2 separate regions of the Homo sapiens genome follow, and region 1 is linked to region 2. The links are contacts of gene promoters, found by promoter capture Hi-C in human tissues and cell types (Jung and others, 2019). All regions are on one chromosome and are shown on one strand. Each heading gives the region's core, a stretch centred on a gene start or on the middle of the fragment in contact. The rest is flanking DNA. Distances are from core to core; before and after follow the strand shown. Region 1 has its middle 12 kb from the start of LRP5. Region 2 holds the start of TCIRG1 (T cell immune regulator 1, ATPase H+ transporting V0 subunit a3).

Region 1 (4,420 bases), core at 311-2,810, 260 kb after region 2:
GTGCAAAGTCCGCTGCAGAGTTTGTTGACTTTGGGGCGAGGGCTCTGGCATCAAAGGCACTGCGTGCCCTGTCCACTGCTCCCGAGGCCGCCGCCCACTGTGATCTTTGCTCCAGTGGCCATGGGATTGTTTGAGAATTACCAACATGTAGGGAAAACCTGCGATCCTGGCCTGCAGAGGGAGGGGAGGACCCCTTTTGCCAGGCTCCCCCAAACATTGAGCTCTCAGCTTCACCAGCTGCACCCCATGGGGTCTTCTTTGCCAGCTTTGGCGAGGGTCTGTTCCTCACTGCGCCAATGCCCCGGCATGTGATCTTTGGGCTCAGTGCCAGGCCCAGCTATCCTGCTGGCACAGTAGGAAGCCAGAAAAGCCCCTACCCACTCCTGCTAGAGCCTAGGGGCTGCTGTTCCCTCTAGGACTCCACCAGGGAGCAGGAGGGGCCTTCACGGGGCTGGTGCAGACCTAAGACCTCCCACGCTTGCCCTCAGCCAGAGCCCTGAGACCCACACCCTCCTCTGCCACCTCCAGAAAAAGCCTCCGGTCCTGGGCACCTTTGATGACTTCCTTTCCCATCCGTGCTGCTGGAGATGTCTACACTAGGAACTCACTGGGATGGAGCTGTGTCCTGCAGGAAGGGCGGGGTGAGAGCCGGCCAGTGTCTGAGCTCCAGGAATGGCAAAGAGGAAGCTGCACAATATTTCCCAGGTCAGAGCCCTCCTTAGGGACATCCGCCGTCCCGATCTTGCCCCTACAGCCTCTCTACCTGAAAGTCCCTATCCCCCTCCACACTCCACCAACCAGCTGCCCCTGGTCCCAGACTTGGACGTCCCAAGTCCATGCACACCCCTGCCTCCCCTCGGAGCTCCCACCACAACTTGTGGATGGGCACAGTGGGCAGGGCCTGGAGGCCCCACCCTGCTGTGAAGCTGGAGGGAAGGGGCACGTGGAAGGGCAGTGCTGGATGCAAGGGACAGCTTGGGGACTGGAGGGGCTTGGGTGGAGGCTGCTGGGAGAGGAGTAGCAGCTCAGGGGGAGGCTGGAGGTGGCTCAAGGGGACAAAGGAGGGGCCCAGCGTGCTGAAGGCTGCAGAATCTAGAAGACAGATGCAGCGGGGAATGGCCTTAGCAGGAGGTGAGGGCGGGAGGCAGCCAGTGTAGACAGTGGGGTGGAGTCCTCAGTGTAGATGGCAGGGTGGAGTGCTCAGTGTAGACAGCAGGGTGGAGTGCTCAGTGTAGACGGGGGTGTAGAGTGCTCAGGGACCCTGAGGAAGAGCTGAAGGGGAAGGGCCAGTCTTTTTTTTTTTTTTTTTTTTGAGACAGAGTCTTGTTGCCCAGGCTGGAGTACAGTGGCGCAATCTCAGCTCACTGTAGCCTCCAGGTCATGGGTTCAAGCGATTCTCCTGCCTCAGCCTCCTGAGTAGCTGGGATTACAGGCACCCACCACCACACCTGGCTGATTTTTGTACTTTTAGTGGAGATGGGGTTTCACCATGTTGGCCAAGCTGGTCTCAAACTCCTAACCTCAAGTGATCCGCCCGCCTCAGCCTCCCAAAGTGCTGGGATTGCAGGCGCGAGCCATCGCGCTCCGCCTTTTTTTGTTTATTTGTTTGTTTGTTTGTTTTTTGAGACGGAGTCTTGTTCTGTTGCCAGGTTAGAGTGGAGTGGCGCGATCTTGGCTCACTGCAACCTCTTTCTCCCAGGTTCAAGCGATTCTCCTGCCTCAGCCTCCTAAGTAGCTAGCCACCATGCCCAGTTAATTTTTTTTTTTTCAGTAGATACAGGGTTTCACCATGCTGGCCAGGATGGTCTCAATCTCTTGACCTCATGATCCGCCCACCTTGGCCTCCCAAAGTGCTGGGAGCCACCCCAAAGTACAGGCATGAGCCACCGTGCCTGGCCAGGCCTTTGTTTTTAAGAAGGGAGAATCCCGTGGCGTTTACAAGCTGAGGAGATGGAGCTGGCCGAGGATGAGTGAGCTGGAGGGCTCTATGCAGGGGTGAGGGCCTGGAGGAGGACAAGGGAGGGGATTAGCCTGGGTTCAGATCCCAGCCTGGCCACTTCCTCGCTGCATGACCCTGGGCAGGGCCATCCCTGTTCTGGCCCTTGCTGTCTCTGGAATTGGTTTGGAGGAATCAGGGGCATTAAGGTGGGACATTCTGCCTCCATTTTGCTTCAAGTACTGAAGGCCTCAGACAGCAAAATAGATGCCCCTGCCCAGGACTCCAAGCTTCAGGGGGCCCCACTTCTGCCCCCATGTGGCCCAGGGGATATGCCCTCAGCACCCAAACCCTCTTTCCAGGCTTTGCACCAAGTACTTGGACCCCAAATTCCCTGCCCAAGCCGCAGAGGCCATACGGATGCCTCCCTCAGACCCACCACAGGGGGACCTCGCCCTTGGTGGGGGCCGGGGGAGGTCCATGGTCCAGCTCCTCTGTCACCGTGCTCCAGCACAGCACCTCAAGCAGTCCAGAAAGTTCTACATGGAGCCGCCTTCCAGGTGTTGTGGGATGTATCTGTCCAGCCAGGGAGATGGGGTGCTCTATTCCATCACTTGTTGGCTGATATATACATTTATTTTTTCTTTACAGTGACTATCCATTATTTTATTTTATTTTAATTAATTCATTAATTTATTTTTTTTTTATTTTTTTGAGAGAGAGTTTCGCTCTTGCTTTTGCCCAGGCTGGAGTGCAATGACGCGATCTCGGCTCATCACAACCTCTGCCTCTCGGGTTCAAGCAATTCTCCTGCCTCAGCCTCCCTAGTAGCTGGGATGACAGACGTGCACCACCACGTCTGGCTAATTTTTTTGTATTTTTGTTAGAGACAGGGTTACACCATGTTGGCCAGGCTGGTCTCAAACTCCTGGCCTCAGGTGATCCGCCTACCTTGGCCTCCCAAAATGTTGAGATTACAGATGTGAGCCATCCCTGTCAGGGCCACTGCACCCAGCCTCATAATTTTATTATCTAGATTCAAAATTTGTTAAGGTTTTGCTACCTTTGCCAGAAATGTAAATATTGAAGGTACATTGGGCTGAGTGCAGTGGCTCACGCCTGTGGTCCCAGCTACTTTGGGAGGCTGAGGCAGGAGGATTGCTTGAGCCCAGGAGGTTGAGGCTGCAGTGAGCTGTGATTGTGCCACTGCACTCCAGCCTGGGCAACAGAGCAAGACCCTGTCTCTAAAAAATAATAAATAAATAAAAATAAATGTGATGTTGCCAACAGCATGATGCTTTCCATGAGAGTTCAAAAGAGATCTCCTGAGAACATTCTGCCACAGAAACAGAATCATTTGTCACACCTGCAAAATACTAACAATTCTTATTTATTTATTTATTTTTTTTTTGAGATGGAGTTTCACTCTGTCGCCCAGGCTGGAGTGCAGTGGTGTGATCTCGGCTCACTGCAAGCTCCACCTCCCAGGTTCACACCATTCTTCTCCTGCCTCAGCCTCCCGAGTAGCTGGGACTACAGGCGCCCGCCACCATGCCTGGCTAATTTTTTTTGTATTTTTTAGTAGAGACGGGGCTTCACTGTGTTAGCCAGGATGGTCTCGATCTCCTGACCTCGTGATCCGCCTGCCTCGGCCTCCCAAAGTGCTGGGATTACAGGCGTGAGCCACCGCTCCCAGCCCACAATTCTTAATAGCATCAGATCTATTTTTAAGCAGGACATGATCAATCAGCCTATGTCTTTCATCTATTTTTGCCTGGAAAAATCCCTCTACCTTTTTGTAAATGGCATTGATGTGCTGAGGCATGGTTTAAGACTTGTGAGTGGGGCCAGGCACAGTGGCTCACGCCTGTAATCCCAGCACTTTGGGAGGCCAAGGCGGGCAGATCACTTGAGGTCAGGAGTTCAAGACCAGCCTGGCCATCTCATCTCTACTAGAAATACAAAAAATTAGCTGGGCGTGGTGGTGCCACCTGTAGTCCCAGCTACTCAGGAGGCTGAGGCAGGGGGATCACTTGAACCCAGAAGGCAGAGGTTGCAGTGAGCTAAGATGGCACCACTGTACTCCAGCCCTGATGACAGAGCAAGACTCCATCTCAAAAAAAAAAAAAAAAAAAAAAGACTTGTAAGTGACAAGCCCGGTCCTGGGGCCTGCTCTGTGTTCCTGTCCTGGGTTCCACCCATGCTTGCGGGGAGGGGGCCTGCAGAAGGAAACCTGACTCCACCAGCCCCAGAGTGACCAACTTGCTCCTGTTTGCTCCAGACTTTTGCAGTTTTATTCCTGAAAATGCCCCCTCAGTTCTAGGTAAACCAGGATGGTCGGTTGCCCTAGTTAGCCCACCATCCACCTTGAGAATCTAACAGCGGAGTGGGTGAGGCGGGAAGGAGAGAGAGGCTTGGGGACTTGTCCCTCTCTTGTTCATCTCAGGCCTGGCAAGAAAGGACATGTGTCCCCTGGAGATGGGT
Region 2 (3,808 bases), core at 1,141-3,640:
TCCGACCCCACGGCCTCTTGTCTTGACTCTGGTGGTCCAGGGTGGGGCCGTTCCCGGCCTGCCTGAGGCCTGTGGTGCCTCCAACTGGACTAGGTCGCCACCTAGTCTTTATGCTCTCTGGAGTCCTGCTGCCCCAGCCCTGCCTTCCTGTAGACTCCAGGGCCCCACCAGGCTCTCATGGCTAGACCACAGGCCGCAGCATCCCTGTCACCCTGCCTCTTCCTGGGCGTCTTCCCCAAGGCCCAGCGATGCCAGAGGTCACCACAGACCTGCCGTTCCCACTCTCCCGGGTGTCCTGGCTGGGGCCTGGGCCTCCTGTCTCCCAAGAGCCATCCACTTGTAAGACGCTTAGGACTTGGAGCCTCCCAAGACCTCAGGCTGAAGAACAGCAAGTGGCAGAAACTCAGGCCGGGGCATCCTTGCTGGGGGTAGGAGGAAGCCTGCTTGGGGTGACAGTCACACGAGGGTGACACAGGCCCTGCTGGCCCTGAGCTGGCCTGCGTCCAGCCACATCCTCTTTCCTGTGTTCCCTACGCCAGGGTGCTGGCCCGGCCACTGCTCACCACTTCCTGCTTTGCTGGCCCAGCGACACGGTGGGGTTTCCCTAGGGCCACACACAAGCCCCTTGCCCATATAATGGCCAAAAGCAGCCCCCCTGAACTTGTGCTAAGTACTGTGGAAGGATTTCACTTCATTTGCAGTGAGGAAACCAGCTCCGAGAGGTGAAAGGGCTTGCTCAGGGCCATGCAGGGCACATCCCATAATAAAACTCAGTTCAGAGACCTTGACCCCCCCCATCTACCATCATTTCCAAAAGTGCTTTTTACAAAGCACTACTTTGTAAAAAGCTACTTCTTCGAAAGAACAAGTTTCCTGGCCCAGTGAGTGTTGGAAATGCTCCAGCTGCTGTGTGCCTGCTGGCAGGTACTGCATGGTAGACATTCAAGGCTCTGAGAAGGCCTGCAGCAAAAACACCAGCCTCTCCCAGCCCATTCCCAGGGAGCTTTTCTCAGGTCTAACACCTGGGCCTCCTTCCTAGACCAGGCATTGCCATCTAATGCCAAAGTGGCCAGGCTCCCGCTTGGGCCCCACAGCCTGTGGCACTGGGGTGAGAAGTAACTGCAGGAGGCGAGGGGAAGCCTGGAGCCCGGGAAGTGTCCACAGGTCTGGCCCGCAGCTCATCTTGGCCACTGATGAAAACAGGTGTTCTTTCCAAAAACAAGGCAGGCGCAGGACTCCTGAAGCACCGCCGGTTTAGCTTTTCCCAGACGTAACCGCCGTCAGAGCGTGGCATGGAGCCTGTAGCTGTGCACTGAATACTTCTATTCCAAGCGGGTCAGTCTTTCCAGCTCACCGCTGGGTTCTTTCCCTTACCGTGGTCTCCCAGGCACTTACTGCTGAGACCCCACTCAGGCTGTCTGGTTGTATCAGGCCCCGACCCTGTCAGAACAGGCCTATGGCGCCCAACCACAAGTCCCCCAATTTTCTGAGGAACCACAGCTGAGCTTGGCTGTGACTCAGTTTCCAGGCCCGGCTCTGGGGCTCCACTTGTCCACCCCTGCCGCAGCCCCACAGGCCTGTGCTCGCTGTGTGGGGCTTAGGGATCACCAGAGCTGAAGGGCCCCTGGCCTCCAGTGGGAATGCCCCAGGCCTGTCCAAAGTGCAGGCAGCTGGACGGTCGTGAGTCCCAGCTTCCAGGCACTAGGACCTGATGACGCCCATGGTGCTGACCTGGAGCAAGGTCACAGTGACACCCCCCTCTACCCCCCGCGGCTGCAGCTGCAGGTGGAGCTGACAGCTGGCCTCTGGCCCCAGGGTATCTCCCAGGGCCTGCTGGGTGCGGGGCGCTGGGCAGAACAAGGCAGCATGGCCTGGCCCTGTGTCCTGCTGCCAGTGAAGCAGGCCCAGAGTGGGGCAGCCACCCACCCAAGGGCCAGAGCGGGGCCTCTCCAGGGTGGTCAAGAGCAGGAAGGTGTAAGCACCGGCGGGTTTCACTGCCGCCCAAGGGAGGGGTCCCGGAGGTGGGGGAGCATCCTGGGGACCCCAAGCCCATGAGCCTGCGAATGTTGGGGTCCCATCAGCCAGAGGCGCACAAGCCTCGAAGTGAGAGGAGAGCAGGGTCTCATCTCCTATCCTGAGCTGGGCCTGAGCGGAGCTGCCCCTGCATCGGGGCCAGCATAGACGCGCGCGGTTGGCAGTGGTCTGTTATCCGCTCCTTTCTCCAGGCCTCCTCTCCGGGATTAAGCGCCTCAGGACCCGTCCGCCAGGCCACAGCCTGGGCTCAACCTCTCCCAGACTTCCTGGACTCCAGTGGAGCCTTGGGCCGGGGGCGGGGCGTCCCTGGCCCCTCCCCGTCGTCCCGCCTGCCCGGAAAGGAGTGAGCGGCGCCTAGTCCCGGGCTGGCGGGAGTGCAGTTCTGAGTCCCGCCCGGCGTGCGCGGAGCGGGGCAGCCAGCAGCGGAGGCGCGGCGCGCAGCACACCCGGGGTGAGTGCCCCTGCCGGGGTCTGCGGAGCCCCAGAATTTCCTGCCCACCCTCTTCCCCCTGCCCCGGGGAGGAGATCCTGGCGCCCCACCCAGTTGGCTCCGTGAATGCAGCTCAGCCCGCCACCCCGCAGGGTGTCAGGCCTTGCGGGGGGCCACGGAGGATCCCCAAGGGAGGAGGAGAAGGATGGGGTGTTTACCAACACAGCCCAGCGTTCCCGGGCCTGGTGTGCGCGGAGCTTTCCCCGCTGCTGCTTCCTTGGAGGGAGGGACCCATTCTACAGATGGGGAAGCTGAGACCACACAACTAGGAAGTGTCAGAGCTGGAGACCAGCTGGGTCATTTGACTCCAGAGCCCACCCCATTTGGAATGGAGGGGGCGCCAGACCCTCTCCTACTGCCTTCCCATCATCTGGAGGGGAGGGCAGAGGTGCAGAGAGACCTGCTGGGTTCCTGGAGGGGCCAGGAAAGGGGCACAGGGTGAGGAGTGGGCTGGAGCCTGGACCCCAGGGCCGCAGGATGGAGGCGTATTCATTTACACCATAAAAGTGGCTGGGTGACCCTGGCTAGAGCGGGGACCAAGGGGGACAGGGGTAGGGGGTGAGCCAGTGGAGCCTCACATGCCAGGCACGGGGGCTGATCACGTCCCCACACCTTTCCCCCCGCCCATTACAGGTTGTTCCCCCACCCCCTGGGAAGTGCTGGAAGGAGCCCGGCCCTCGAGCCCTCGGCATAGTGGCTGTGGGAGCCCTGATGGCCCTGAGCCAGGGGTGACCCCTCCCCAGATCCCCAGAGCTGATTCCCCACACCTCCTTATTTGGCCAGCACAGCCCCAAAGGGAGCCAGGTCAGACACAACCCTCCTCTGAGCTCACCCTTTGTGCTGGGCACATAACATTGGACTTTACCTCTCCAAGTGTCAGTGGAGTCCTGTATGAAACAAAAGCACCGTACCCCCTCCCCAAGGGTTTCTCCCCCCAGGGATTAGTGTGAGGTCGTGTGGATGAAGGGATTCAGTTGAGGCTCTGGTTATTTTTGTCACCTCCCTAGATCCTGTCTCTGTCAGGGGTGCCACGTCCCATTCACCCAAAGAGGAAGTAGAGGCACAGAGAGGGTGAGAGACTTGCCCAAGGTCACACACCCAATCTCAGCCTGGGCTCCAAGTCCCTCTGCCCTGTGGCCGGGCCTGGTCCTTAGGGATGGAACCCAGCCCCGCTGCCCCCTGCCCTGCCCACCTGCAGCCTTGGGCCATCTGCTCAGTGTTCCCTCGTTCCCTCCTTCTCTCCTTTCCCAGGCTGGGGCTGGGGCTGCGTTTCCCTGTTTAGAG

The links. Contacts are between HindIII fragments. The study calls those that stand out against the background at their distance.
Region 1: a contact is called between a fragment that was not itself captured here and the fragment with the promoter of TCIRG1 in region 2, in 1 of the 25 tissues and cell types used here (liver).

The regions. Positions count from the first base shown.
Region 1 is chr11:68,298,294-68,302,713 of GRCh38, forward strand. It overlaps a transcript of LRP5 not described here. Among named protein-coding and RNA genes, the nearest start is that of LRP5, 12 kb to the right of the region's middle. RefSeq lists enhancers at 448-1,195, 1,945-2,692. The HindIII fragment of the contact is 8,628 bases long and covers 1-4,420 here.
Region 2 is chr11:68,036,635-68,040,442 of GRCh38, forward strand. It overlaps TCIRG1 (T cell immune regulator 1, ATPase H+ transporting V0 subunit a3), which reads left to right and starts at 2,391. Exons shown (of 20, transcript NM_006019.4): 1 at 2,391-2,485. NDUFS8 (NADH:ubiquinone oxidoreductase core subunit S8) reads left to right here. Exons shown (of 7, transcript NM_002496.4): 7 at 1-10. RefSeq lists an enhancer at 1,750-2,371 and silencers at 2,263-2,442, 2,503-2,582. The HindIII fragment of the contact is 15,208 bases long and covers 1-3,808 here.